Linked DNA regions of Homo sapiens: regions 2, 3, 4, 5, 6 and 7 are each linked to region 1. Evidence: promoter capture Hi-C in 16 types of primary human blood cells and fetal thymus (Javierre and others, 2016). All regions are on one chromosome and are shown on one strand. Each heading gives the region's core, a stretch centred on a gene start or on the middle of the fragment in contact. The rest is flanking DNA. Distances are from core to core; before and after follow the strand shown.

Region 1 (4,269 bases), core at 719-3,218:
AAGCTATGTGTTAGGCCGAGCATGCTGGCTCACGCCTGTAGTCCCAGCTACTTGGGAGGCTGAGGCAGGAGAATCGCTTGAACCGGGGAAGCAGAGGTTGCAGTGAGCCAAGATGACACCACTGCACTCCAGCCTGGGTGACAGAGCGAGAATCCGTCTCAGAAAAAAGAAAGAAAGAAAGAAAAGCTACGTATGAACAAACAAGCAATCACAAAAGGATTTCTTTTTTCATTACTGGTACTAAAAGAAAAACCATACCTCCTCTTGATTCAGAACTTCCGCAGAGTTTTCGTCTTCTGATCCGGCTTGTTCTCCCTTTTCCTTTCTGCATGCTAAAACTGTAGTTTCTTTTTTCTGAAATACAGTTCTATTTTTTCAAAAAGGACAAAACTGTAATTTCTGTGGAAATGCTCAATCTAAAATAAAAAACATTTCTTTGATTTACTTTCCAGTTATATGATAATCACTGTTCTTTGTACCTTTAAGTATACAAATGTATGTTTTGGTAAACTGTTTCTCTCAAGTGCTTTTGTACATGAAACGTTTATACTGTGAGCTAAATCATGATCCCTACAGTAACAGAATTCCCATTATATCAGTCCCTCTAAAACAGTTTTATCTTGCAGACCTAGTGACTACAGCTTAATCTACTAAAAATACAAAAAATAGCTAGGCGTGGTGGCACACGCCTGTAATCCCAGCTACTTGGGAGGCTGAGGCAGGAGAATCGCTTGAACCTGGGAGGCGGAGGTTGCAGTGAGCCGAGATCGCGCTACTGCACTCCAGCCTGGGCGACAGAGCGAGGCTCCGTCTCAAAAAAATAAAAAAATAAATACATAAATAAAAATAAAATAATGGCTGGGTACAGTGGCTCACGCCTGTAAAACCAGCACTTTGGGAGCCCGAGGCGGGCTGAGGTCAGGAGTTCAAGACCAGCCTGGCCAACATGGTGAAACCCCGTCTCTACTAAAAATACAAAAATCAGCCGGGCGTGGTGGCAGGCACCTGTAATACCAGCTACTGGGGAGGCTGAGGCAGGAGAATCGCTTGATCTCAGGAGGCGGAAGCTGCAGCTAGACGAGATCACGCCACTGCACTCCAACCTGGGCGACAGAGCGAGACTCTGTCACAAAAAATAAATTAAAAAAATAAAAATAAAAAATAAATCTACTTCTAAAACATACGAGGGCAGAAATGAGCAAGAGACAAGAACTCCAGGCAATATTAATACCGCACTTCCGCAGTATAAGGTTCATTATTTGACCTAACGAAAGTCGGCATGTCCAGCTCCAGAGGCGAACGGCGGCTGGTTCGGTGCGGGTCCCAGCGCTCAGTCCACAGACCGCGCCGGGAAGTGTCCCCAAGACTCCCGGGCCCTCGCGCGAGCTGTCCACCATCACCCTGCTGAGGACCACGTGAAGCCCGGTGACCGCCACAGACACAGGCACCGTCCCCGCCCCCATAGTCCTCAAACTCTAGCCGTGAGGCCGTCCTACGGTCCGACACACACCGCTCCCGCAGCCATAGGCCAGCCAGGCGAGCATCGGACCTCGGGCCTCAGGCTCCTCAGCTTTACGCAGCGCGCCGGAGCAACATGCGCTAAGTGTAGGACTCCACAAGATGAGAGGTTACTGCAGCGCACACGATAATGCCTGCCCTGGAGGGGACCTGCGACCTAAACTCAGTTCTTTTTACGCTGATGAATGAAAGACTAAGGAACGCACCCCGCCGACTCTGCTCCCGTTACCCGGGCAACTGGAGGCCCGACCCGGAAGTCCTACTAGCTCACCTAGGCGCCGGCGGCCGCTTCCAAGATGGAGGCTGCAGTGGGCGGGCCCAAGGCACGTGGAAATACCAAACAGCCCCAGATGAAGGCAAGTTAAAGGAACCGGCCAAAACTGCAGAGGGAGAGGCTGAAGGCTGTCGCGCCTGCCTGGTGTCCTTAAGCAATCCAAGTCCTCAGTCTCCCGGGTCCGCCCCTTCCGCCGCGGGCGGCAGCTTCCGGCTCGCGCATGCGCAGTGTTCGCGGACTCGCCGCCAACGCCCAGTACAGTCGGGGACGAGGTCGGCACACCCACAGCCCCATAACCCCTACGTCGAGTCAGGGGTCAGAAAACCCAGTAACCCGCAGGCGAGCAAGCTGCGCACTGAAAAGCCGGCCTGCGGAGTCTTTCCTTACGAAGTTAAACCACCTAGGGCGCGCGGCCCTGTTCGCCCAGACCTCGGGCTTTCCTGCCAGGCTGGGTTTGCCGGGTCGAGTCACTTTGCTCGCCAATCCCCGCCCCCATTCCACCGTTTCATTCTGGCCCCAGGACCCGCCTCACAGGAAAATTCTAAATAATATATCTAAATACCCCTTCTTCCAATAGCGGGAGCTCGATTTCTGCCCCACCCACCCCCACTTTGATTATGGGCTATGCCTAGTAACTTGATTCCAAAGAGTACAGCCTGGAATGGTGTTGGGGACTACAGTGGAGAAACCTGGCAAACAGTACCTTACCGGGTGGTCAAGGATAACATCAGGAAGAAATCATGCTGATAGCATGTTCCTGTGGTGTCTCTCTCCAAAACCCTTCTATGGAAATCTTCTATGGGGGAAAAAAAATTAGTACTCCTAAACATGTTTTCTGTCATGAAAAACAAGTACAGTTGTCCCTTAGTGTCCGTGGGGGAATGGTTCCAGGACCCTGCGGATACCAGAATTAGAATGCTCAAGTCCCTTGTATACAATGGTGTAAACCTAAGTAACAAAAGAGGCTCCCTAAAAGAAAATGAGATTTATCTGGGAGTAGCATTGCAATGGGAATATGCATGCCATAGTAAACTGTGTGCGTTTTGGGGGAGGTTGAGGCAAGGAGATGTTTTTAAAAGGAAAATGAAGATTATATGAATTGCTTTAAATCAATTATCTTTGGCTAAAAGAATGAATAACAAAGGTAGCATCAGTCCAAAGTTGCTGGACAGATGTCCTTGCAGAAGGATTTTCTGTGTTTAAGATTGGGCCTTTCTGCAAGGTTAGGGTCTTTTGTGACAATTCTTGTTATGAGGCGTAGTGCATGAGAACCCTTCCTTCAAGGCCTTCCCCAGCTGCATTTATCAGGGTTTTGACACAAGTGACTCCATTTTGATTCTGCAACTTTCACAATGGTGTAATATTTGCATATAACCTATGCACATCCTCCCATATACTTTAAATCATCTCTAGATTACTTATAACATCTAATACAATGTAAATACTATGTAAATAGTGAAGGGGTGGCCTGCCGCTCCACACCTGTGGGTGTTTCTCATCGGGTGGGATGAGAGACTGAGAAAAAAAAGAGACACAGAGGCAAAGTATAGAGAAAGAAAAGTGGGCCCAGTGGACCGGCGCTCAGCATACGGAGCACAAATCCTATTTAAACTACAGATTCTAAACACAAATGATTTTATTCACCCCTGCCCCCCAACACTAAAAGATTTAAACACTAACATAGTTTCTAACAGCTGTAAACTAAACAAATCCTAAGCCCCTACTGACTGAATGGAACCCCTTTTGGCCAAGATGGCCCCAGAAAAAAACTTAGAAACTTAGTTCCCAGCCCTGATGGAATGTGAGGTCAGACATGCCTCATTATACCCTCTCTCTTTTACAGTTTAGATACAACTGGCCAGCATTGATGTTAAAATAGAGACCATGAGACTGATGGAACAGACTTTTTGTGGCAATAAGATACAAAAATTATAAACAAGACCTAAGGCCATTCCAGGAAAGAGTTAAGTCACTTCAAGAATAAATTCTGTTCTAATGGTTACAAGTTTTTTCTTTTTCTCTAGCAGCTAAACAAGCACTCACCTCCACCTAAGCAATATTAAAACAATTACCGCTTGTGCACCACCAGATGTTAACTAACCCCCTGTTCCACAATGACAGAGCATCACCATCTTGGACAACCCCCTCATTCTAAAGTGCACCTTAATAAAAAACCGCCTAGGCCAGGTGCGGTGGCTCACGCCTGTAATCCCAGCACTTTGGGAGGCCGAGGTGGGCAGATCACGAGGTCAGGAGATCGAGACCATCCTGGCTAATTCGGTGAAACCCCATCTCTACTAAAAATACAAAAAATTACCCGGGCATGGTGGTAAGCGCCTGTAGTCCCAGCTACTTGAGAGGCTGAGGCAGGAGAATGGCATGAACCCAGGAGGAGGAGCTTGCAGTGAGCTGAGGTAGCGCTACTGCACTCCATCCTGGGCGACAGAGCAAGACTCTGGCTAAAACAAAACAAAACA
Region 2 (4,269 bases), core at 549-3,048, 1.5 Mb before region 1:
GAATAAGATGGCCTGGGTTCAAACCTTGCCCCCTCCTCCAACTTAGCTGTGCAACATGGGCAAGTTACTTCACCTCCAGATGCCTCAGTGACTCCATCCATAAAATGGGGACAGTCATAGTATCTGCTTCACAGGGTTTATGTGAGGATGAAATGCATTCACACTTCTAGGCAGTGCCATACTTACAGCAGCACCTGGCACTGGACAAACACTATGGAAAACAGTGCCTGACACAGAACAAATGCACTAAGAGCATTTCCTTACACACACACCTGGAAACCACTTGCTCTAGTAACTGGCACAGAGTGGGTGTGGCATAAATGGTGGGAGAAATTCATCATAGCCTCTTCCCATCTGGGGGTGTGCTGAGATGCTGGAAAAGAGGGTCATCAAAAAAGGAGGAAAAATCCCTTAGCTCTTAAGCCCTAAGAAAGTGCTTCACAGCTTTTCCTTGACCATGAAAAATACAGAAGCAACACCCGCAGAAAGAATAGAATCCTAGTAATTTTGTGTTCTGAATCAAGCTAAGTTTGACCTTTGAGCAAATTACTGGCTCTCTGCTAAGAGTGTACAGACCCATCTATTCATCATAGACTTCACTGTCTGGGAATGAGCCCCGGAGCCCAGGCTCTGCAGGTTGTTGCTGTTACGTAAGCCAGTGCAGGAGCCGTGCTGAGAAAAGGAAACTGCGCAATCTGCTCAGGTTCCCAGGAAGGCCAGGGTCCTTGTCCCACCTGAGGAGCTGACTTCTCAACTGGCAGCAGATTCAGGCATGCACACTGCCTTCGCCGGCCACTGGAAGGGCACTGCTCCCAACACCCACTCACACGCTGCCTGGATGGCTCTGATGGGGGCCACTGGGCAGGCCGGACAGGCTGCCTCAAGGAGCTGGGGACCTGTGGTGTCAGACAAGCTGACCACCCCCCGGCAGGGGTGGGACATACGTGTGAAAAGGGGAGTCTGGGGGTCCCCCACACAGTCCATCTACGCAGATGCAGGCCAAGCTCCCCAGATAAGCCTGCCTCAAGGATTCTGGCCGAGGAGCAGAGGGGGCCCTTCCTGGAGGTCACCTGCCCTTGAAGCAGGTAGAGAAGACATCTTAGTGTGGATCAGTGCTGACATCTGTGGAGAGTGGACTCTCGGCACTTTCTGTCTGTGGACTCACGTCCCCATCCCCGGAGCCCTGTGAGGTGGCTATTATGAGCCCCATCCTACAAGTGGGCAAACTGAAGCACCCATGTCCATGCTACCAGGGAGCAGCAGTGCCAGGAAGAAGCTCAAGTGCCCGGCCTTCTTAACCTCTAAGCTCCAACAGGTGACCTCCAGTATAAGCGGAGGCCTTCCTGCCCTCCAGAAAAAGCCGAGAGTCTCTGTAGCGTGGTTCCCTCCTGCTTCTTTTGAATGAACGACTGGGAGGGAAGGCTGAGGAGACCCACAGGGGCCCAGGGACTGATGCAGGGAACCCCCTCACTGGGGAAAGAGAGAAAGAGTTGGCTAAAGTAGAAAAAACTCGAAGTGCAAGCAGGGCTGTGGCTCCTGCATGACCGAGAAAGCCTCCTTGCCCACTGGAGCCTCAGCTGAGGGCCTTCTCGAAGGCTCTGCTTTCTATATTCTCTCCACTCCCTGACCACGGCAGGCTGGGTTCTCGTAAGGTTTAGAGCCGTCTCAGGGACAGGAGCAACCCCCGCTGCCATGCAGAAGATGCAGAAAGTCTTCTTTTAGAAGCACTGGAAAATACATTCGAACCGGGATGGGCATTTCCTGATGATGTTGGAACACCAACACAGTACCTCAGGGTGCTTTCCACCTCGACAAAGGGCCGAGGACTTTGCCTCCCTGCCTTTATCTTGCGAGAACCTTTGCACTGTGGAGTGAAGGAGCTCGGCTGAAAACTCAACAACTGCACAGCCCTTGGCTGGACCCACACTAGGGAAGGTGTCTGCGAGGCTCGGGCCTGCTCACTGTGCTGTGCGTTGGTCTGCACACACTGGGACTTCGGTGATAACTTACAGAAGGGAAATGGGAGGGGAGGAGTAAAGAAGGGGTTGGACAGTGACACCAGCTTGAGACAGAGAGTAAGAATCCTGGGCTCCCAGTCTCAGTTTCGTCATGAACTTGCTGTGTGATGTGGGCCCAATCTCAGCATCTCTGGGCACAATGAGTGGCCACCAGGGCCTTTCTAGCATTCATATCTTACCCTTCCATGAATGAGCGAGGAACCCGTGCAGCCCAGTTCTGCAGCTACCAGCCACATGGGGCTATGTCAATGAAAATTAGCAAAAGTAAACACTCCTCGGTAGTACTAGCTACATTTTAAGTGCTCAATAACATGACAATTTAAATGAAAATTAATTAAAATGAAAAAAATTAAAAGTTCAGTTCCTCAGTCATGTCCACCACATTTCAAGCACTCAGTGGCCACAAGTGGCCAGTGGTTACTGCAGTGGACAGTGCGGATACAGGACACTCCCACCACCCTAGGGAGTCCTCCACAGGGCAGCATCGAGAGTGTGCAGATGGAGATGTGGCTCACAGAACGTTCGGGAAGCTGCTTCTTTAAAGAAGAATTGTGTGTCAGCTTGGAGCCTATGTAAAAGTAATGAAAGAAAGCTAGATGTGTCTGTTGGGGTAACTAGGTCTGTAACAGGGAAAGTCATCAAGATACCTGAAGGTGAGATAAAATACCATATTGCCACACCCAAGCTATGGTCAGTGGTGAAAGACTAGCGTGTTTCCATAAGATGAGAATACCCATCTGCTGCCTCTATAATGTTGAAATACAATTTGAAGTATTATAAACAAGATGGAAAAATCATCATTATTTGCAGGTGATACGATTTTATACCTAGAAAATGCAAAAGAATCAACTATTAGAAATAGTCAAAGGCTTTAGCACAGGTGGTTGGTTACAAAATTAATACACAGAAACAATAATCTTCTCTATATAGAGGTAAAAATAAGTGTAATTTAAAAATCCCATTTTTAAATAATTTCTTAAATTTACATAAAAATGTTCATATTGAAGAATCTAAAACATAAATACAAATTAAAGAAATAGATAGGGTCTATATAAAGAAAACTTCCACCCTGTACTGAGTAGAGAAAAGATGGCTTACATAAGTAGAATAACACCACAGGAACCTAGGATGTAAAGACGTCAACTCTCCCTAAGTAACTATAAACCCAAAGCAATCTCACTCAAAATATTAACAGGTTTGGATGTTCCATTTTCGTTTTCATTCTTGTAAGGGAGTAGAGGACAGTTTGAAAGTAACAGTATACTTCTAGAGTTCCCAAAGAAGAAGCAGCAAATGATACTAGCCAGGAAAACAAATACTGGAAAAAAAGAATAGGACAATTCACTGTATTAATTGTTAAATCACGCTAAAATGTAAGATCACAGTCATGAAAACAGTAGTATGAAACTGGCTTAGAAATGAACAAAAAGATCAAGAGAAGAATCCTGATAGAAGAGCATATTTGATCATTTAGGTGGTATTTCAAATCTTCAAAGAAAGAGCACTGCTTAGCAAACAACATTGGAACATCCCACAGGTAACATGCAAACGAGAAAACCAGAAATCTAACTCACTCCTCATACCAGAATGTCCAGTGAATTAAAAGCAAACATCAACAACAAAAATGTACAAGTTCTAGAAGAAAACCTACTCCTATACATCTTGGCCTAGGTATGAAACAACCTCAGGAGAAAGGAAGGCAAAATTTCTGCATCTGAACTACAAATAAAAATAATACAAAATTCTATGGAGTAAAAACACCATAAAATCAAATGGCAAACTGGAGAAAATATCTGTAATATGTGCAGTAAGGTACTAATTTCCTTAATAAGCAAATAACTTACATATTCCTAAGTACAGACGATAAACTCACCAGAAAAGTAGCGCAAGATATACACAATCAGTTTATAGAGGAAAAAAAGCAACAACTGACTAATAAGCATATGGAAGGGTCAGCTTTGTTCCTAATTAAGGAAAAGCAAATTCAAACAAGATGATACTATTTTACGTCTATCAGAGATCCTGGCAATGATTCAAAATGATTTCTAATCCCCAGTACTGGTGAGAATGTGGGCAGAGAGGAACTCATGCGATGCTGGGGGTAATACATCAGTATAAACAGTTTGCAGAGCAAACTGACAGTATCTATTAAAACGTAAAGTAACCATACCTCCTGGCTCAGAAATTCCACTTCTAGCAATGTATCTTACAAATACATTTACATAAGGAAACAAAGAATGCTATTTGCAAC
Region 3 (4,269 bases), core at 882-3,381, 1.4 Mb before region 1:
TTGCCTTTTTCCTATTGTCTATCTCCCCCTCAACCACTGGATCCTAAGCTCCATGAAAGCAAGGAGCTTGAAATGTTCCCTGCTTTATCCTCTGGGCCTAAACCAGTGGCTGGAACACAGTAAGCACTCAATAGACAGCAAAGCCTGAATGAACCAATGCTACATTGTCTCTGCTCAAAATATCACCATATCAGTAAGACCTTCCCTGATCATCTTATGGAAAATAGCAATCTCCCCTCCACTCCCAGATCTCCACTCCCTCCTCCTGCCCTCCAAGTCTTATTTTTTCCTATAGCATCATTACTTTCTGATACATTTGATATTTCTTTATTGCTTGTTTCCCTTCCAAAAAATGTCAACCCTGGAGGCAGAAATGCTATTTTATTTACTGATGCAGCCTCAGAGCCTAGGACAGTACCTATCCCGTAGCGAAGTCTCAATAAATATTTGTTAAAATGAATAGCTAGCGAAGTGGGCAAACTTTCATACAACACAATTTCAGGATTGTATCCAACACTGGAAAAAATTGTCTCCAACACTACAAGTAAGTGCCGTCTTACGTGACTTGACCTTGTTCTAGCAGAAAGACAGCCTAGAACTCCTAAGGAAAAGGTCTGAAATGCTGGCTAGCGCTTAGTTTATATGGAGAGGAAAAGGTTTTAGAGTAAGATCAATCAGTAAGACCCTGAGTTCCTGACAATTGCTGCTCTAGAAAGCATGCCTGGAAGCTTACCTAAGCACACGGCCATTGTAATTCCTTTCAGAAAGTAAGTGAACATATAAATTATAAATAAATGACACTTACATACACCATTCTGTTTCACAGTGGTGTTGTATTGGCAGCAGCCTTCAACTATAGTTCATTGACAGCATTTGTGGACCCACAGCCAAGCGCTGAAAGCACTGCTTTTTTTGACAGCTGCTCTCCTAATGGGGCATCTCTCAAAGACCGGTTTCATTCTGTGACGCCCACGTTGTCCACATTTTATTCTGCACAATAACTGCAGATTTGAAATAAATTCTTCCTCCCCACCACCATTATTGATTACTCATACCTGCCCCTCACCCTCCAAAGTGTCTAAATTGTGTGGATTTTGCGGGGGTGGGGGGAGGCGGGGGAAGGAGTCGACTCCCCATGTACTGGGTGTCCCCGATGGCGGCAAGCCACACCTTCACACAAGGGGGCAAGGTTCTTGACTAAATATCCTAAAGGTCTGAAAGATGGTCCCCTTCCCCCCAACACAATTCCACCAAAACTGGCCAGCCGCTGGCTAATGAGCAACCACGGATCCTCACCCAAACATTGGCTTTTCTTCCAATAGTGCAGATTGGGAATGCAGGGACGTCGTCCTATTTATGAACACTGAGTCACGTCGCCGCTCAATGTCTGTTTCCTCCTCCCTAGGAATGAGGTGACCCCCTCCTCCAGCGAGTAAATGCGGGGCGATGGCGAGAGCGCAGGGGGCGGCGGCGCTGCCCCACCTTGGGGAGCGAATTCACCCCCCTAGTCGCACCAGCCTGGGCGCACACGGGGGCCGGGGCGAGCCTGTGGGACTCTGCAGTGAGCTCCGCGCGCCCCGGGGGTGCTAGGGGACCGGGACCCTCGGGGCGCCGTCCCCACGCCCCAGCCCTGACGGGTCCGCGGCCGAGCAGCCCGGGGGACGTCGCTGCCTCCCCGCCCCGCGCGCGGCCGGGACTGGGCGCTGCGACCCGCGCCGCCTCCTCGGGCAACAAGTGTCCGCCCTCCGCCCCGACGGCCCGCCCGGCGCGGTCCTCACCCGGCACAGGCCGTCCACGAACACGCGCGGGTCCAGGTGACAGGCGATGGTGGCGCTGGGCAGGTCCTGCAGGTCCACCTCCTCCATCTCGCAGTCAATGAAGCTCCAGTCGCCGCCGCCCTCGTCCGCCTCGGCCGCCCCCGAGAGGGGCGCGAAGGGCCGCAGCGTCACCCCGGGCCGCGCTCGCGCCTCGGCCGCCTCCGCCGCCTCCGCCGCGGCCCCGAGCTGGGGACCGGCCACGCCGTCCTCCATCCCCGCGCCCGCGCGACCCTGTGCGCCCCAGCGGGCTGCTCCGGGCTTGCGCGCCGGAGCCTCACGCGCTCCGGTCCGCGCCCGGCCGGCGGCTCCGCCGTTAACCCCCTCGGAATCGCGCGGCGGCAGGCGGCGGGCTGTCAGCAGTCTCCCAGCGACACGGCCTCCCAGCGCCAGCCCCGCCCGTCACCGTTCCGCGCGGGAGGGGCAGAAGCCCGGCGCGGCGACCGCCCCCCCAGCCCCTAGGGCCGGCCACCGGCAGATCCAACGGTGGCCCCTTTAAGGCCGGCGCCGGTTGGGTTATTGTACCCCGCCCTTCCAGGAGACGGGGCCAATAAAGGAACGGAATTCTCTTCACGTGACCTTCCTTCTGCCGCCCGAAGCCCGAAGCCTCAGGGCGGCCATGTTGGTTAGGGGCAAAGTCCTCGTCCCCAGTTCCGCTTTTCTGACAGCTGGTGCCAGCTGAAGGACGCCGGGCAGAGTCCTCGGCTCTTGGGCCCTTGGGGTGATAACTGGGGAGGCAACGTTTTTGTGGTTCCCATGCGGGGACGTTTTGAAGCACAGGGGCCCACTTTTGGGAATTTAAGCGAGACATAGTCTCCCTGTGGCTCTGTGGCCCCTGGCAAGTGGTTAGATGCTTACCGTATATTATCAGATATAGTCGCAATAAAGACTGAACTAGACCATGATAACAATGCCTTACTTTTCTATTTCAGCGTATTAGTCACTATACCATTGTGAAAATTTATGTAATTAGAAGTAATTTTTCTGAATTACCATTATATGCTATGTACAATAGGACATAACGAAAGAATTAAGAGATCACCCCTTTCCTTTGGGGAATAGCGGAAAAATAAGAGGACCTCAAGTGAGCAGACATGTCTCTTCCTGAAAAATAGAATTCTTTTTTGGACAGTATGATACAGTGAGAACTTGGGTCTGAATTTCAGCTTTGCTTTTTAACTACTTGTACAAATAAGCTGAATCTTAGTTTCCTCATCTGAAAAAAATGAAGACATATTACTAAGAATTCAGTCAGTGCTTAATAAATGGTAGCTGTTTATGCACTGGGTTCTTTGGAGGTTGTGAAATTACAGTTATATTTTTTCTTAGAGTAGGCTTACTCTCTAGTTAGGAAGTGTTAGTAATTATAACAAAAAGTATATCCAACAGCTGAGATTTATTCAGAACTTGCCATGTGCACGGTTCTATGATTACTATTATCATAGTCTTAGGACAGTTTGTGTCCTCAGGGAGCTAAACCCAAGAGGAATAATAATACCCATCTAGAGATAACTCATAAAATAGAATATGATATGAGGATGTGAAGAAATTGGAACCGTCATACTGTGAAAGGGAAATCTTGGGCCCCCAAAATCACTAAGGAAAACTAAAGCTGGAAGTTGCTTAGAGCCAACCAGCCTCCCATTCCATTCAAAGTCACCCCTCTGCTCACTGAGACAGATGCATTTCACCGAGACAGATTTGCCTCCTTTATAAAGACTAATCAGAAACCCAAAGAGTGTAACCGTTTGTCTATCACCTATCTGTGACCTGGAAGCTCCCTCCTGCCTCCTGCCTTTGCAGTAGTCTTCCTGCCTTTGCTTCAAGTTGTCCTGCCTCTCCAGACCAAACCAATGTACTGCTTACATACATTCATTGATGTCTCATGTCTCCCTAACATGTATAAAACCAAGCTGTGCCTTGATCACCTTGGGTACATGTCCTCAGGACTTCCTGAGGCCTGTCATGGGCATGCCCTCAACCTTGGCAAAATAAACTTTCTAAATTAATTGAGACCTGTCTCAAATTTTCAGGGTTCACAATATATTGCTGATGGGCATGTAAAATGGCGCAGCCACTTTGGAAAACAATTTGGCAAGTCCTCAAAAAGTTCTATGTAGAGTGACCATATGACCCAGCAATTCCTCTCCTAGGTATATACTTAAAAGAAATGAAAACGGCCGGGAGCCATGGCTCACGCCTGTAATCCCAACAATTTGGAAGGCCAAGGCGGGCAGATCACCTGAGGTTGGGAGTTCCAGACCAGCCTGACCAACATGGAGAAACCCCGTCTCTACTAAAAATACAAAATTAGCTGGGCGTGGTGGCACATGCTTGTAATCCCCGCTACTCGGGAGGCTGAGGCAAGAGAATCTTTTGAACCCCGGAGGCAGAGGTTGCAGTGAGCTGAGATCACGCCACTGCACTCCAGCTTGGACAACAAAAGCAAAAACTC
Region 4 (4,269 bases), core at 485-2,984, 1.4 Mb before region 1:
ATGGAATCAACCTGTGTCCATCAACAGAGGAATGGATAAGGCAAGTGTGGTATATATATATACACACAATGGAATATTATGTGGCTATAAAAAGAATGAAATTATGTCATTTGCAGCAACACAAATGGAACTGAAGGTCACTATGAAGGTCATTATGTTAAGGTCAAAATGTTGTATGTTCTCACTCCTATGTGGGAGCTAAAATGGTTGGTCTCATGGAGGTAGAGAGTAGAATGATAGATACCAGAGGCTGCAAAGGGAGTGTGGGTGAGTAGGACGATGAAGAGAAGTAGGCTAATGGGTACAAACATACAGTTAGATAGAAGGAATAAGCTTTAATGTGTGGTAGCACAGTAGGGTGACTATAGTTAAGTTAACAACAATATATTGTCTATTTCAAAATAACAAAGAGAGAGGACCTGAACTGGTCCCAACACATAGAAATGATAAATACTTTAGGTAATGGATACCTTAAATACCCTGACTTGATCATTACACATTCTACGCATGTAATAAAATATCACATGTACTGCATAAATAATGTACAAATATGTATCAGTGAAACAACTGACAATGACAAGGTTCCTTTTATAACCCTCACTGTTCCAGATGAAAAACTGAATCAAGATCATATAGTTATTACGAGATAGGGCAGGGATTTAAATCAGACCATTTAATCCAAGAACCACCCATTTCACCATGATTGTCATGTGTGTCAGTTCCATGTAATGTTCTTACTGACCTGCAAGATGATGTGTACGTGCTTCAGGATCTACTGACTAGCAGGCTTTGAAATCCCTGCCTCCTAGTACAACCTATTCTGCAGTGACACTCTTCTTTTAACTGAAATGTACCTTACCAAGTAACTGAAGAAAGCCAGCCAGATTAAGAAGCGGGTTTGGGGCCACTTGTAGGTAAGTGAGTGCAACTGTTTGAGGAGAATTCCAGGCAAGGAGAAACTTTACTCAGCTCTAAGTGTATCCTGTGATCTAAATGTTACAGATACATTATAATCCCACGGGCTCTTCTGAAAGGAGCAGATACCTGCTAGAGAAAGAGCAGATTTCTATGGAGATGAGGCCATTCCTTCTGGAAAAGCAACAAAAGCAACAAACCCTTACATTGTTTATAAGCCCTTAAGGTTTTCTTGTAATCCGAGTTTACCTGCTTCATGATTCCTTATAATATATGGCAGAAGGACTGTATAATTATTAAAAGTTACTTAAATATCAACGCTTTCATTTCTTGTCATCCACCTCTGAATCTGTCACCTCTGTTTAACCCTCCCTGGTATTTAAATAGCTAATCTAGTGTTGGAGGCCAGGTTAACAACGTGCACGTCTCTAAGTGACTTCATAGCGACCTTCACACGTCTATTTATTTGGTATTTCCTTTGTGTTCCTTTATATGAACTGACTGAGCCCTTGCTAATAATTAAAAGAATTTGCTAAAGTATTCTTTTGGCAAAGTCAGTAGATAAGAATTTCTGTAAGTGGCTCATGCCTGTAATCCCAGCACTTTGGGAGGCCGAGGCGGGTGGATCACGAGGTCAGGAGATCGAGACCATCCTGGCTAACACGGTGAAACCCTGTCTCTACTAAAAATACAAAAAATTAGCCGGGCGTGGTGGAGGGCACCTGTAGTCCCAGCTACTCGGGAGGCTGAGGCAGGAGAATGGCATGAACCCAGGAGACGGAGCTTGCAGTGAGCCGAGATAGCACCACTGCCGTCTGGCCTGGGCAAAAGAGTGAGACTCCGTCTCAAAAAAAAAAAAAAGAATTTCTGTGAATAGTGTGTCTTGTGACATTAGCTTGCCCACCAAAGTATAAAACTAACTGAGAAAAGTATTTTCCAAAACTAGTTCAGGTTGGTGCATATGTATTTGAAGGCACGTGTGTATTCACTCATTCAGGAAATATTTATGGAGCTCTACTATGTGCCTGGTCTATCCTAGGCAATGACAAGCAAAAACCCCTGCTTTCACAGAATCACCATCCTAGTGGGGTGAGGTAGGGCAGACAGATAACAACTAGAATATATTATGTGTCAGATGAAGATAACTGCTATGGGGGAAAATAAGGCAGAGAAGGATGCCAGAGAGTAGGGGTTGTGTTTTAAAATGGAATGCTTGGGGCGGGCATGGTGGCTCATGCCTGTAATCCAAGTACTTTGGGAGGCCAAAGCAGGCGGATCACGAGGTCAAGAGATCGAGTCCATCCTGGCCAACATGGTGAAACCCCATCACTACTAAAAAAAATACAAAAATTAGCTGGATGTGGTGCCATGCGCCTGTAGTCCCAGATACTCGGGAGGCTGAGGCAGGAGGATCACTTGAACCTGGGAGCTGGAGGCTTCAGTGAGCCGAGATCACACCACTGCACTCTAGCCATTTTATAAAAGTAAAATGGAGTGCTTGGGGAAAATAATTAATCAGAGACTGCAGCAAGGTAAGGGAGTAAGCCATGAGAATATAGGGGGCATCCCAGGCAGAGGCCCAGCAAGTTCTAGGGACGGCAAGCAGGCTGGTGTTTTAGGGGCTGCAGAAGTCTAGTAAGCCAGAAAGAGACTGGGATTGCCTGATTTTATAGGACCTTATACTTCATGCATAAAGACTTGACTTTTTCTTACTGTGAGACAGAAAACCTTTGAAAGATTTTGAGCATAAAAGTGGCATGGTCTGATTCATGATTTCCAAAGAGGATCAGCTGGCTGTGGAGTGGAGAGCAGACTGTCGAAGGCCAGGAACTAGTTAGGAGGTGGTGGCAATAATCTAGGTGACAGGAGGTGATGGTGACTTGGACTGGTACAGTGGTAATGGAGATAGAGAGAAGAGGTTGGATTTTACGTGTGTGAGTGTGTGTGTGTGTGTGTGTGTGTTTGTGTACTTTCTAGTGATGGCATCTCACTATGCTGCTTCCAAGCTGGTCTAGAACTCCTGGGCGCAAGTGATTCTCCTGCTTCAGCCTCCCGAGTAGCTGGGACTACAGGTGCACCACCATGCCTGGCTTTGGGTATATATTTTTAAAAAGTGAAGCCAGTTGGATTTACTGGCAGGTTGGATGTAGGGTTTGGAAGAAAAGAGCTAAGGTTTTCAGTTTGGGCATGTCTGTGCACACGTTGGCATATGTGTCTACATAAAGCTTAATGTTATCCAAAATTATCTCATTTCTTTTTTTACTTATTTTATTTTTATTTTTTTTTTGCTTTATACCATTTGAAGAGGGACCTTCCCAGTCTTGTTTATTGCTGTATATCCAGTGTCTGGAACAATCTGTCTCTTTCTCTTTCTCTCTTAAAAGAAAGTATTTAGCTATCGGTAATGTGGTTACAGAAAAATTGTAAGGAGCTGTTATTTTCTGTCTTCTGCATTTTCAGCATTGAGCCTGCATTTATTTAAAAACAAACTTTATTTAATTTCAGAAGATTGAACAAATTTGCAAAATTATATAATAGAAAATTTTAAAATGCTTATTATCATTAAGTGAAAAATTCTACATTCTGCAGACAGAATGTTATTTTGAGAGCCAATGTTAATGTGAGTAAATGACCCCAAACCCTATAAAAGAATAAATCCAAACCCTATAAGATCAAATAGCCTTGTGTGATCCACAGGATCAGTTTCCAGGACAGAATAGACTTTATTAGCATTGTTTTTCTGCAAGGACATTATTCAGGCCAGTTCTCAGCCACTCAGCCAACAGCTTTGTTTCCGACTGTGCCAAGTCTGCAAACAGTAGCTGATCATCTTTAGCTCAATTCAAAAGGAGGTTTTTCTAGATATTCCAACCACACCCCCCCCCAATAGCCAGCACATTTCTATCAAGTTTGATTGAGTTAGAGTTTATGAAATATTTCCTGAATGACTGAATACACACGTGCCTTCAAATACATATGCACCAACCTGAACTAGTTTTGGAAAATACTTTCCTCAGTTAGTTTTATACTTTGGGGGGTAAGCTAATGTCACAAGACACTCTATTGACAGAAATTCTTATCTACTGACTTTGCTAAAAGAATTTGCTAAATATTATTACTCGCATGAGTGTCTTTAATTTGGTTCTTTGTAAACATTGAGCATTGAAGACGGTTTGTTATTAAGGACAAAGTTATGTATCTAACTAATCTCACATTTTTCTAAGCAGCGCAAATAAACCCAGAGCCCTTCAATGGTTCACAGGTCCACAATCCTTTTATACACATTCTGAAATCCTAAAAGGCTCTGAATACTGAAAGCTGTTTTGGGAACTCATCTAGAATCAGAACCAGAAA
Region 5 (4,269 bases), core at 1,157-3,656, 1.4 Mb before region 1:
AACAACTACTATGCAACATGAGGAAGAGGACCACAGGAGATTGCTGGGCCGGGTGGGAAGAGCAGGCTGGCAGGCTGGGCAGTGACAACAGTCTAGGGGAAAGTTAGATTCTAGATCTCTGACCATGAGGCCTGGCCCCCTGCCATGTGCCTGTCTATTTGGAAGATGAATCAATTTATCCATCTATCTGCACAACAGATGGATGTATGAATGACAGCCATGTAGAAATAGCTACTCTGTCAGGTGGTCCATTTTTAATTATACATTTTGTAGAATGTAATTTTATATTACTATCCATAAGTTCTTTTCACCTAAGCCAGTGATGTCTCAGCAGCCAGATTGTGTTTACAGACCTTGACTTTGAGCACAGTAACTTTACAACTATTAAAGCTCTATGGCACATGAAAGATTATTTCCTTCTTCCTCTTTCTACGGTAGGAGACTACAGTGAGGAGTGTAAGTGAAGGCCAAAATGAGGGAGAGGAAAATAAATCACTGTAATTATAGTACACAAGCAAGGAGGACCTGGAAATGTGACCTAGGTCATTCCATGTCCCCTTTCTGCAGTTATTTCTTTAAGGAGCAGCCCTTATTTTTACAAAGGAGAGGCAACACAGTGCTGATGAAGTGGCTGTCAGTTTCAGGGCACCCTTTTGGTTTCCAGGTGTGAGAGTTCAAAACTGTCCTGGAGAAGCCAGGCAGTTGGGTCCTTTTCCATAAACCTAGATTTTGCCTTCCAGCTAGGGAGACTCTCCACTGGAGAGGGTACCTGGCTACTGAGAGAGAAGAAAGCCTGGACCCATTGTTCTCAAGGCTTTATGCTTTTATTTTCCTAGCTTTGGTGGGGTGGCAGGGTGGGGGGTGGTGTGTAGGATGCTGCAGTCCAGTAGGAAGAAGCTGATATGCACTCCAGCAATCCCCCAAGCGGTGACCCTGGTCCTCCTCTAGCCACCTGGGGACATGGGGATGATGAATCAAAGCAGAGATGAACAGAGGACACTGTTTTATTCCCTGGCTGGAACACACAGTGATATTCTGATGGGGTCCTTAGGGTGAAGGCCATATGGCCTGTCCAAGACGTCGGCACATCACAGCCATCATCTGCTTTGAAGGCCGCACAAACTAAAGGTGTTATTGGTCTGGAGATCCAGTGATACTCTTTCTCCCTAAATAAGAAAAATCAACACTTTTTTGGTGCCTTTGGTGTGAGAGCCTTGGAGGTGAGTTCAAAGAACCTTGGAAAGACTTAACTCTCTCCCCCAGCTTTGTTCTCTTTGTTTTAACTCCGGGTTGGATGTCTTCAACTCTCTTCCCATAAATGATCAAACTGGATGAAGTTTTAGGTTGCACTCGGCGGCTTCTCTGTGTCATGTAACTCTCCAAACAGAGAATCCAGTGCTTAAAGAAACACAGAGCTATTAACACATCAGACATGGAGGGGGACATTTTTTTGTTAGCTGCCCTTTTTACTAATATATTATAATGCTTTGAATCATAAATAACAGCAATAAAGCAAGAATGTTCTGTCACTCTCCAGGTATTGAGGCTCTGGCTAAGGGAAGTCCTGCACATATGTAGCTCCACCCATGGCTGAGTACAAAACAACAACTCCATTGCTTTTAGACACTACTAAGGTTTTCTTAACCCATTTATGCCTAGTATTCCATTATTGGACCGCTAAGCTTGTGGAAGTTATTTATATCCTACTGCTCAATGTCATCACCAAGGTCTGCTTTTTCACACAAAAAATTTGCAACCTCAGGCATAAATGGGTTAAGCCAGTTCAACTTAGTAAATAACTAAAATGCTCAAAGCATTTATTAATATGATTAAGAACATATGCTTTGGCCGGGCACGGTGGCTCACACCTGTAATCCCAGCACTTTGGGAGGCTGAGGTGGGCAGATCACGAGGTCAGGAGTTCAAGACCAGCCTGGCTAACATGGTGAAACCCTGTCTCTACTAAAAATACAAAGTTAGCAGGGCATGGTGGCACTCGCCTGTAGTCTCAGCTACTTGGGTGGCTGAGGCAGAAGAATCACTTGAACTCAAGAGGCAGAGGTTGCTGTGAGCTGAGATCACGCCACTGCGCTCCAGCCTGGGTGACAGAGTGAGACTCTGTGTCAAACAAAACAAAACAAAAACCCAAAACCAAAAACATATGCTTTGAGCATTTTGGCACAGCCTGGAATCATATAGTGTGGTGGATTAAAGATGGCTGCCATTTCTTTAATACTCCTATTAAGAAGTGAGGTTTGATTCTCCTCCCTCTGAATCTGGCCTGACCTTAGTGACTACTTCGTAACCAGCAGAATATAGTGGACGTGATGCTGGGTGATTTTTGTCCTGCAAGACTGTGTGGCTTCTGCCTTATTCACTGACCATCCTGAGGTCACCATGCTGGAGGGGCTACCTGTGGGTGCTCCATTTGACAATCCTAGCTGAGCCCAGCCTTCCAGCCATCTATGCAAGATGATGGGCATGTGTGTGAAGCTGTCTTGGCCCCCTCAGACCAGCCCATCCGCAAGACACTGGGCACATGTGTGAAGCTGTCTTGGCCCCCTCAGACCAGACCATCCACAAGACACTGGGCATGTGTATGAAACTGTCTTGGCCCCTCAGAGCAGCCCATCTGCCAGCTGAACACTGCTGAGTAACCTTCGTCAGTGCCACACGGAACAGAAGGATCGCCCAGGCAAACCTCGCTCAAATCCTTCACTCACAAAATCATGAGATACTATAAACCAGGTACTCTAGGCTGATAAATTGTGGGTAATTTGTTACGTGGCAATTGGTGACTGGGATATGCCATGACTGATGTCTCCTCTAAGCTAGTGAAATCTGAGTGGGTGAAAAGACAGGGCCAGATGGGAGGTGTGGAGTAACAGTTGAAAGCAATTCTAAAGGGGAGGGGGCAATCAGAGGAAAGGAAGGAGGCTCCATGCAGCCAGTTCTTCCATTTGGTGCCTGCATTTTTTCCCTTTTGAGTCACTGTAGGGATTGGACTACTCTGTCATTCAAGAACCTAAACCACCGGGATATATAAAAACAGGCTGCAATATTAAGCAGGCTTTCTAGAACAAGATGTTCCTTTGTTGCAATAATTCCTTGTGAGAATTTCACAAGGAAATAAGCTTTTCATCTCCATGTAAAAGCTTCAGTTGGTATCAGGCCATATTATTAAATATGGATTAAAAATAGCCCCGGAGTTTTTAAAGCATAATTCATATATAAGAATAGATGGCAAATACCAGTTTGTTTGCTCAAGGACTTCTTATGCCTTGATTCCACCTGCTGTTACAATGAACACTAACATAATTAAGCCTTTTGCTAGAATTGAAAGCTAGGAGCAATGTGGTTCAGTAATTAATCAATGTGAGTCGAGGGTAGTCACCCACTTAATCCATTGAATAATAAATTAATTGTTACAACAGCTGAAAAGAAAAAATACTATACATACTTAGGAATATGTTTAGGATTAGTAGTTTTTTTTAAATGTTTACACCTATGTTTGAAAGTGTTAAGATCTAAAATATATTTCTTAGCATCTAAATGTAGGAGTGAATAAAGTTAATTTCTAAGTTTTAATGAAGAGTGAGAAGTCTGTTTTAAGGGAAAGCCTAGCTCCTTTTATGGCCTGGAATGAGGAATCTGGCAATAAATTTTACTGATAATTACAGACAACGAGCATTGGGATGGAGCTGTCCGCTCCACTGGGGGTATGCAGTGTAAAGTATTGGTTGAGCATGCAAACAAAGTCAGTCTAGAAAGTGTGGACTTTTATTTATTTACAAAAAAAAATTTCTTTTCTAAAATAGGCCTTGCTGCAATGATGATACATGTTTCCTTTATAGACTTACAAGAAGTGTGATGCCTACTATTTGTGTCATAGTTTGAGCTGGTATAATAACAATGGACAATACTAGCAAAGATGTGAAAACGAGGGGACACAATAGTCTTTCCCCTCAATTCTCATCAGTGTGGCCGCCCCCCACCATTGGTTTGACTCTTATTCGGCTCGGAGCCTTATTTCTGCTGCTGGGTTTTGCTGGCTGTTGCTGTCCTCGCTGTCTATTTTTTCTCCCCACTAGAGCGCAGGCGAGGGAAGACAAAAGACGGAGAACGACGGTTCACCCGGGTGGTCTCCTCTGCGGCTGGCGTTCCCCTGGCCTTACAGAGAGGCTAAGAAGCAGAGACGCCTTACAGATAGTCTGCATAGACGCCCTGTATGGCCCATCTGCTCTGCCCTTGTCCCTTTCATTGTACGAT
Region 6 (4,269 bases), core at 1,311-3,810, 1.4 Mb before region 1:
CCCCACTTCGCAGAACTTATTTTAGACTTTGCTGTGCTTCATGTAACTACTATAAAAATGAGAGGTTTACAAGCTGCAGAGCAAGTCGGGACTGGCCAAAACATGCGTCCTTGCACTTTCTTCTCCCCGCTCCGCCTTTGCTTGGCTTGACTGCTCAAACCTGCAGTAGTTAAGAAAGTTCCACGGTTTAAGAGGGTTCCCAGGTCATCAGCCACTGGGAGTTTTCTCTGACTCAGCTCTGCACTTCCACTTGCTCCAGAACAGGGAGTGAGGAGGAGATGGGGGTGGCCTTCGAAATGGCCATAGGGTGGTGGGACCCCAAGGTGGGGAACAGCCTCAGGTGGACGAGGGGATGCTTTTCAGGGCCCATCTGCCGGGACTTGTTGTGACCACTTGGATGTATGTGTCATAACTGTCCACCTTCCACCCTTCAGGCTCCCAGCAACTTCAAGATACCTGGAGAGATTCTCAGACCCTCCCCTCTAATAGGCAGAGAGGAAATTAATGCTGGCGTGGGGAGGGGAGAGTGGGAGAGGATGTGACGCACAGGCCCAGAGCTTAGGGACTCTGAATTCAGTAATCTGGGTCTATTGGTGCCCCTTCATATGCAGTAAGGTCACCTATTAACTCTGTGTTTATGGAGCTGTATTTATCACCTGGAAAGTGATATCATCCTGCAAGTCTTCTTATCAATGGATCATCCAATTGGGGGTTCACATTGTTTTGTCTTACACATTGACAATAATGCTGGTAGCATCAGCCTTATCTCTTGCCCGAGATTGGACTAAGGCTGAACTTCTCACAGCATGGTTTCTGACCACTGGCATTGTATCACTTTGGAGGAACATGTTAAAAATTCACATTCCTAGGCCCCATGCAGCAGGACCCACTGAATCAAACTCTGTATATTTTTTAAATTACTATTTTAACATTCTTTTCTTTTGTATTTAGGTAAAACTTACTGCATTAGGCTGTTCTCGCATTGCTATAAAGAAATACCTGAGAGTGGGTAATTTATAAAGAAAAGAGGCTGAATTGGCTCAAATGCTGCAGGCTTTGTAGGAAGCATGGTGCTGGCATCTGCTCAGCTTCTGGGGCAGCCTCACAAAGCTCACAGTCGTGGAGGAGGGCAAAGGGGGAGCAGGCACGTCACATGGCCAGAGCAGGAGCAAGAGAGAGGGAAGTGCCACGTACTTTTCAACAGCTCAATCTTGTCAATCTTGCAAGAACTCACTGACTATCGAAAGGGCAGCAGCAAGGGGATGGTTCTAAACCATTCATGAGAAATCCACCCCCCGACCCAATCACTTCCCGTCAGGCCCTGCCTCCAATACTGGGGATTACAATTCAACATGAGATTGGGGCTGGGACAAATATACAAACCATATCACTTATATTCAGTAAAGTACCCAAACCTTAAGACTTTTATCACTCACATACACCCGTGTAGCCACCGTGCAGATCAAGACATAGAACAACATTGCCACCACCCAGAAGCCTTCCTTTTGTCCTTCTGAGACAATAGTATCTTCCAGGGACATCTGCTGTTGACTTCCACCATCATAGACAAGTTTGCCCTCTACCTACCCTGAATCATGCAGGAAGCTTTGAGTCTGGTGTCTTTCTCTCAACATTGTGTGTGTGAGATGCACCCACACTGTTGCTTGTATAATAGCTAATTCTTTTCCATTGTGGTGTAGTATCTCAAGGCATGGAAATACTACACTGACACAAGTATTCTACTCTTGATAGTATCTGGGTTGTTTCCAGGTTTTAGCTATTATACCAAAGCTGCTAAGAATAGTTGATCCTTGGAGAGGATCGAGAGATAGAGGGAAGGAAAGGGCGTGTCTTTCTTTTTCACATTGGTGATAAAGGGAGTTCCCATTGCTGCTCCTTCCATCAGTGAGCTGCTGCTCAGAGGCCCAGTGTGGCAGGCAGTGGTGAGGTGGTGGGGAAGGAAGAAAGAAAATGCTCAGTGCAGTGCATACATGTGCATGTGCGTGCGTGTGTGGTGTTCTCTCCCCTAACCCCTACATCCACCGCCAACTCCACATTGAGGCTGGTAAAATGGCCTCAGGAGGATATTCGCAGCATCCTGACCGTTCTTATCAACCTGCAATGATTTTGCATGTGCATGTTGTGGTGTTGGCACTTATAATTGTGAGACTGGCTCAGATAGAAATCTCCTTCTCCACTTGTAGGCTGGTTATGATGGTGAGAGTATCGGAAATTGCCCGTTTTCTCAGCGTCTCTTTATGATTCTCTGGCTGAAAGGCGTTATATTTAATGTGACCACAGTGGACCTGAAAAGGTAAGACAAGGCGTCTGCCTTACTGAAATAACTGTACCTAGTTCTCTGCACACACACACACACACACACACACACACACACCTGAGGCCAACGGTGCTGCATGGGCACGTCCATCCTCAGTCGGAGTCTGAACTGAAGCCCACATGTGGGCCAAGCAGTCATGACAGGGTCGGCTGGGCTGGAGTCAGGAAGGAGGAGGAGTTGGGGGTGCCGTGAAGAACCTGCTTCTCCAGTTGCTGGTCAGCTGTGACTCTCCCAAGCCTGTCTGAGCACCATCCCTGGCTGATAACACTGGGGAGAGTTAACTTTTTCACCTCTGTTTGTTGATATGCCCCTTTGTGCTCCGTATTCACAAAGGGGCACCTCAACAAGCCCATCATTTGTTAATGAATGCCTTTACTTTCATCGCCAGCAAGACATTTTCATAAACCCACCATCTACTTTGCAGTTCTCAAGAGTTGCTTCTCTTAAACTGGTGAGGACGCGGCTAAGCCCTGGAAATGAGTCCAGATTCTCACGGTGGCCCATAAACACTGCTGTTTCCTCCCACCTAGGAAACCCGCAGACCTGCAGAACCTGGCTCCCGGAACAAACCCTCCTTTCATGACTTTTGATGGTGAAGTCAAGACGGATGTGAATAAGATCGAGGAGTTCTTAGAGGAGAAATTAGCTCCCCCGAGGTAGGCCTCAGAAAACCAGTGTTCATAACTTGATTGTCACTTTCCCCCACTAGTAGTCAGTTCTAAAGCTCTGGGCAGTGTGTGTGTGTGTGGTTTTCTGCAGCCCACGGTGCTCACTTCCTTAATCATAACCCTGGTGTAACCAGATTAGAGTTCGGGGACCTGGGTTTCATTGTGCTGCACCTGCAGCTTGGCAATCACAGTTTGATGGCAGGAAGTGGGAGGAGATGGGTCCAGGGTGGGTGGTTGGCTGTATCCTAGACACCCTGCTGGAAGCTATGGAGTATGTGTTAGGAAGAAGTATCATGGATTTTTGGACCTCGGGGGAGCTATTTCTACTCCATCCCCTTCGTTTTACTAGGGAAGCACCTGAGACCAGCAAGGCCAGGTGGGGTCCTGTGTCCCAGAACTGGCCACTGCCAGGAAACAGCAACAATCCAAACCTCTCCGTCCAGTGCCATTCTCCTAGATGTTGTTACTTCCCAACCTTTGAGAGGAAAAGGGTCAGGAAAACGTTGAAGGAAAGCTTTTCATTTTTATGCCCAGAGAAAGCTGTTTTTCTCCATTGTATAGTATTATCTTCACTAAAACATCACTTGTCTGTGATCCTCCAATTTTGAACTTTTCAAGGTATCCCAAGCTGGGGACCCAACATCCCGAATCTAATTCCGCAGGAAATGACGTGTTTGCCAAATTCTCAGCGTTTATAAAAAACACGAAGAAGGATGCAAATGAGAGTGAGTACCTCCCATCCTCCTGTTTTGTTTCAACACAGACTTGAGTCTTAGCATGGCGGCCCATACGCTCCTGGGGTATTCCCATCTATTTCCCAGTGGGTAGAGAAGTGAGTCTGGAGCTACAGAAAAAGTGCCTCCAACTTTGAATCTGCACGTGGGCTTCAAGAGATGAATGCTTCTTTTGAGGCTGGGAACTCAGAAAACAACATTTTTAGGGAAAATAGTCATCACCCAGGTGTTCCGGACACACCATGGGAATCATGTTCAATGATGTTTCTGCCAGTCCACGTCTCCCCACAGGCTTTCCATAAGTATTTTTGAATAAATAAATCACTTCTAGAAGGAGCAATATTGTGTAGACAGCAGTGTGATTTTCCAGGGAGGAGTGAGCCCTTTATTCAGATATTCTACATCCACCTGCTGCCTTCCCAGCACCCATTGCTTGCTGGCCACATCTCAGCGAGGAAGGGAAGCAAACTCCATCACAGCTGGTGAAAAGTGACATGCACTTGCAAACCTCTCTTTGTGATTTCTTGCC
Region 7 (4,269 bases), core at 1,656-4,155, 1.2 Mb before region 1:
AGAGCTCAAGCAGAACACAGTCACGTGAAAGACTCCTTTAACCTGGGGACAGACAGAAGTTATCTCAGAAATGGCCAATACGTTAATTAACCTTTTTGATTTTTAATTTAGTTTCTCAATGTTCCAGACGTAACAAACACCTGACCAGACAGGTAAAGGCTGCCCAATCCATACCACCAGGACCAGCCCCCCAAGACGGGTCAGTTAGGGTCCCCACTGCTCACTCTCCTCAACCTCTCCTTGGCAAAATATCTTCCTCCATGGCATTGAACCAATTCCTGCATTGAAATTATTTAATGAAATCTCTGTAGAGAAGATGCTTTGGGATCTCAATATTAGCATAGAGACACCTAAATTACAGATTTGTGAGCTGAGAGCTGGAGTTTTTCATTAGATCCTAGAAATATAAAACATACATTAAAAAAACAACTCTCAGCCATTCGTAGTAGCTCATGCCTGCAATCCCAGCACTTTGGGAAGCCAAGGTGGGCAGATCACTTGAGGTCAGGAGTTCGAGACCAGGCTGGCCAACATGGTGAAACCCCGTCTCTACTAAAAATACAAAAATTAGCTGGGAGTGGTTGTGGGCATCTGTAGTCCCAGCTCCTCCAGAGGCTGAGGCGGGAGAATCGCTTGAACCTGGGAGTGGGGCAGAGGTTGCAGTGAGCCGAGATTGTGCCACTGCACCCCAGCCTGGGCAACAGAGTGAGACTCTGTCTCAAAAACAAACAAACAAACAAACAAAAAACTCTCAAATATCCTTTTCTTGAAAAATCCTTTCGCTCTATCTTTTGTGCTTAAGGAGGAGACACTCTCAGTATATCAACAAGCTACTAAGTGCTCTACGTGCTAACCGAAAACAGAGCCCACCTTGGTGCTGGTAAGAACCCATTCCAGGCAGAGGATACCTTTTGATGGTGCTCTTGCTCCATGATAAAGTTAATTTTTCAACAATTAATAATTTCTATATTACTCTAAGATATTTCTTAAAATCCTATGGAATATGAGAAAAACAAGTTTTGATTTTCTAAGGGGCAGGTCCATTACTGTAAAAGAGCAAGAAACCATCTGAAACGAAAAACACTTTAAATTCCCTTTGGCGTATACTTTTGGCTACAGCTTCACCACTGAAAACCCTGGAAGAGGGGAGGGATGCATCAAGTTTACCCGTCGGCATGAAAAACAGACGAGCTGTGGCACAGCTTCTCATTCTCAGTCCTTAACTTAGTCAGCGGAATGGCAGGTTGAATGGCAGTTTGTCCCTCCAAATGCCAGATAACTGCTTTATTTAGTTAAGCTTGCACGCATACCTCAAGTCAAAGGCTCCACACCTGCAATGAGGCACTACCATTTGCCCTTCTATAATAGACAGTCTTCGAGATGAGCCAAATATGCCAGCCAATCATATAAGCCAACTCCTCATTTTAAATGTGAGGATACCGAGGCCAGGTCAAAGAGTCTATAAGAAAGAAATAGATGATGTACAGACAGTATGGTATGGATAGAGAGATGAACAGATGAATGGACAGGTAGATAAATGAAGGACAGCACAGAAGTAGACATCAGGAACTCCTCATTCTGTTAACGCTTCATCATCAACTATCTCTTTTAAAGCTAGGCAAACCGTTTCATTTTTCTGGGGCTATTTTCCCTTACCTATGGGGTGATGATCCTAAAGGCTCTTCTCAGGCCCCTCCTAGCTCTCATTGTCTTTGATTTTATGAAACTAGAGAATTTTCCAAAATGATTCAATTTGACCTTGGCAATGCCAGGGCCATTTTGCCAGGATTTCCCAGAATTCATTGCACCATAATCATGGAGGGGACTCGGGAGGTCTTATTCATCCAGAGATCTGGCAACATCTGGGCATCCTGATTTACATGCAGTGTCCTCTCTTTATGTTACACTGGAAAGCAACTGTGAGCAAAGCTTACTATAGAAAGTTCCCACCCTGAATGAAGACGTTCAAACCATAAGAAACCAGCATACTAAAATTAGCAGTGATGGCCCCTCTTGCTTCACAGGGCAAATAGAAAAGTCAGCATTACCCAAGTCAACCTGGGAGTCTGCATGCACTTGGCTTTTTTCTAGAAGTCCCTTGTAAAATGTGAGACTTTCTACCTGGGGCTATTGCACCTCTATATATCATACTTATACTTATTCCACGCATTTAGTTTTTCCCCAGGCCCCAAATTCCATTTGGCAGGGAAGACTGTGTAAAAATGGATGCTTCTTTGGCGCAAATCCCTTCTGTCTGCTCAGAGGGTGCTTCTCCATATAACAACTGTTTTCTTAAGTTGTAAAACAGCAGGGGCAGAGTAAACTGTATATACAGCCAGACCGTTACAATCGCATAGACATCTTTTTTCCCCTCTGACTGCCAATTCTTAAAAGTCAGAGTCGCCACCATTTGTTTTCTGAAGCTCAATAACTTTGTTATTTCTTTGAATGTTACAGGAAATGCTGGCAGTGAGGCAAAACCCAGCCTTCTTTATGCATGAGGAAATAAGAGAAGTAGAGGGTATACCCAGGGTCACCTGGCTTCGGCTTCTTCAGGCTGGTCGGCATTTCAACTGTCCCAGAGACGGCTGTTGCTTCTAGTTCTAAATACAGTGGTTCTACAGCCTCCTGAAGGAGCATTTCTCTAAGTTTAGTCACCCTCAAAGTCGATTTTCTTATACCTAACAACTGCCTCCCTCCCAGCCAGGCCCCTTGCCATAATTCAAGCCTGCTTCCTCTTTGGTCCTCTGTGGAGAACAAACTTGCTTTGGTGTTTATGTTCTGTTTAATGCAGGGTTACATTAACGTAGGAATGTCCAGGTTGACATTCCTACTCTGGAAACCTAAGAAGAGCTCACAGTCATTCCTTAGACCTGTGTGGTCCTGTCTGTGTCTATGGCCTGCTTTTCACTCATAAAGAAGAATCAGGGTCTGTTATCAAGTCCCACAGTCTCCCAAGTCTAGGCATGGCCAGAAAGTCTCGATCAGAAAAAGCTGAGAGGGCCCTCTGGGGAAAAATGCAGTCAGATCTGGAGGGAGTCACCGAGCACAGCAAATGGAAGGAAGGGAAAAAGCAGACGAGGAACACCATATCCTGGTGGCCTGCCCCTGGTGGGCATGGTGATTATTTGCAGAGCTCCATCCACTCAAGGACTTTGGGAAAGTTGATGCAGCTTGGGGAATGGTTCCAGAAGGTGACCCAGATGCCATGAGGTTGTGGCCAGGACCACAGGGAAGGCTGCCATAAAAGCTGCCGTGATCACAGGATAGCCTGCAGAGAACTACCTTAAAACCCCACCTAGAAACCACCATGCAGGGAAGGTCATCTAGAGGGGACTGGAGCAGTAGCCAGGGATGAAAGCAGGGATGCCCTACTGGGGATCACTAACATTTCCTGCCTTCATTCTCTGCATCAGGCACACAGCATCATTTGGCTTGATCTTATAAAGAAGCTCTCATTATTATCCCCATTTTACAGAAGAGGAAAGTGAGGTTCAGCAAGGCTCTGTAGCTCACTGAAGGCTTAAGAATTCCACTGGCTTGCCCATAAAGCCCAAATTCTTAACCACTTCATTTTACAACCTGACCTCCCTGCATCTTGGCTTTTGGGGACAGTAGGAAGCCCTGTTTTTCAATATCCCTCACTCCAAGAAGAGAGTATATTAATTTTCCACCAGGGACCTGATACGGTTTGGAGACATCTGGATGCTGGGCGGGGGTGCTGGGCAGTTCCACAGACCTGGAACTGTAACCCAGCCTCAGATCCTGGGGAAGGGTGTGGTTCTGGAAAAGAGCGTTACTCTGGTGTTTACTCAAAGATAGTCATTAAGTCACTGTGAAGACATCTTTTCTGCAGACTAAACAACCTCACTCATTTTTTTAAAAGCTTCCCTCACAGGAGTTATTTTTTGGTACTATCTTTCTATATTTACTGGTTTTCCCCAGACATTCTTCTACCCTCCCACTCTCTATCTTAAAAATGCCTGTAATAAGATTTTGATCTGTGCCATAGAAAGAAAAGGGTCATTTTCATAGTTTTCATCTCTGGCCCTCATGAATTAATAAAAGGCCAGCATAGACGGTAATTACTCCCTTGTGGTCCACTCTGACCCTCAGACCTCTTTGGGCTGCCTCTGTGCCTGGCCAATCTTCCATTTACTATTTGTTTCTGATCCTGTTGAACTTTACTGTATATTGAGGAAGCAGTCCTTAGTTTCATGCTGCCCTGAATGGTTCTAACATATGATTCAGTCAGCCTAATTTCCTTTT

The links. Contacts are between HindIII fragments. The CHiCAGO score rates a contact against its expected background, and 5 or more counts as called.
Region 2: a fragment that was not itself captured here is called in contact with the fragment with the promoter of SETD4 in region 1 in 1 of 17 cell types (neutrophils); the score reaches 9.5 in neutrophils.
Region 3: the fragment with the promoter of RCAN1 here is called in contact with the fragment with the promoter of SETD4 in region 1 in 2 of 17 cell types (neutrophils and total CD4 T cells); the score reaches 12.8 in neutrophils.
Region 4: a fragment that was not itself captured here is called in contact with the fragment with the promoter of SETD4 in region 1 in 1 of 17 cell types (naive CD8 T cells); the score reaches 5.2 in naive CD8 T cells.
Region 5: a fragment that was not itself captured here is called in contact with the fragment with the promoter of SETD4 in region 1 in 1 of 17 cell types (fetal thymus); the score reaches 5.5 in fetal thymus.
Region 6: a contact is called between a fragment that was not itself captured here and the fragment with the promoter of SETD4 in region 1, in 2 of 17 cell types (M0 macrophages and non-activated CD4 T cells). The highest score is 6.4, in M0 macrophages.
Region 7: a fragment that was not itself captured here is called in contact with the fragment with the promoter of SETD4 in region 1 in 1 of 17 cell types (monocytes); the score reaches 5.3 in monocytes.

The regions. Positions count from the first base shown.
Region 1 is chr21:36,058,558-36,062,826 of GRCh38, forward strand. It overlaps SETD4 (SET domain containing 4), which reads right to left and starts at 1,969. Exons shown (of 12, transcript NM_017438.5): 1 at 1,790-1,969; 2 at 259-367. The coding sequence starts at 331. It overlaps SETD4-AS1 (SETD4 antisense RNA 1), which reads left to right and starts at 2,047. Exons shown (of 3, transcript NR_186380.1): 1 at 2,047-2,064. RefSeq lists enhancers at 1,742-1,891, 1,922-1,971. The HindIII fragment of the contact is 7,728 bases long and covers 1-4,269 here.
Region 2 is chr21:34,594,932-34,599,200 of GRCh38, forward strand. All of the region lies in intron 1 of RCAN1 (regulator of calcineurin 1), which reads right to left. Among named protein-coding and RNA genes, the nearest start is that of RCAN1, 18 kb to the right of the region's middle. The HindIII fragment of the contact is 8,670 bases long and covers 1-4,269 here.
Region 3 is chr21:34,612,982-34,617,250 of GRCh38, forward strand. It overlaps RCAN1 (regulator of calcineurin 1), which reads right to left and starts at 2,132. Exons shown (of 4, transcript NM_004414.7): 1 at 1,779-2,132. The coding sequence starts at 2,030. RefSeq lists silencers at 1,647-1,746, 1,937-2,366. The HindIII fragment of the contact is 8,899 bases long and covers 727-4,269 here.
Region 4 is chr21:34,663,119-34,667,387 of GRCh38, forward strand. No RefSeq gene overlaps it. Among named protein-coding and RNA genes, the nearest start is that of CLIC6, 3.7 kb to the right of the region's middle. The HindIII fragment of the contact is 2,807 bases long and covers 332-3,138 here.
Region 5 is chr21:34,684,276-34,688,544 of GRCh38, forward strand. The region is part of intron 1 of CLIC6 (chloride intracellular channel 6); the gene reads left to right. Among named protein-coding and RNA genes, the nearest start is that of CLIC6, 17 kb to the left of the region's middle. RefSeq lists a silencer at 375-434. The HindIII fragment of the contact is 1,452 bases long and covers 1,681-3,132 here.
Region 6 is chr21:34,705,076-34,709,344 of GRCh38, forward strand. CLIC6 (chloride intracellular channel 6) reads left to right here. Exons shown (of 6, transcript NM_053277.3): 2 at 2,205-2,314; 3 at 2,869-2,994; 4 at 3,625-3,731. Among named protein-coding and RNA genes, the nearest start is that of LINC00160, 30 kb to the right of the region's middle. The HindIII fragment of the contact is 1,915 bases long and covers 1,604-3,518 here.
Region 7 is chr21:34,854,989-34,859,257 of GRCh38, forward strand. The region is part of intron 6 of RUNX1 (RUNX family transcription factor 1); the gene reads right to left. The region is part of intron 1 of RUNX1-AS1 (RUNX1 antisense RNA 1); the gene reads left to right. Among named protein-coding and RNA genes, the nearest start is that of RUNX1-AS1, 21 kb to the left of the region's middle. The HindIII fragment of the contact is 1,957 bases long and covers 1,928-3,884 here.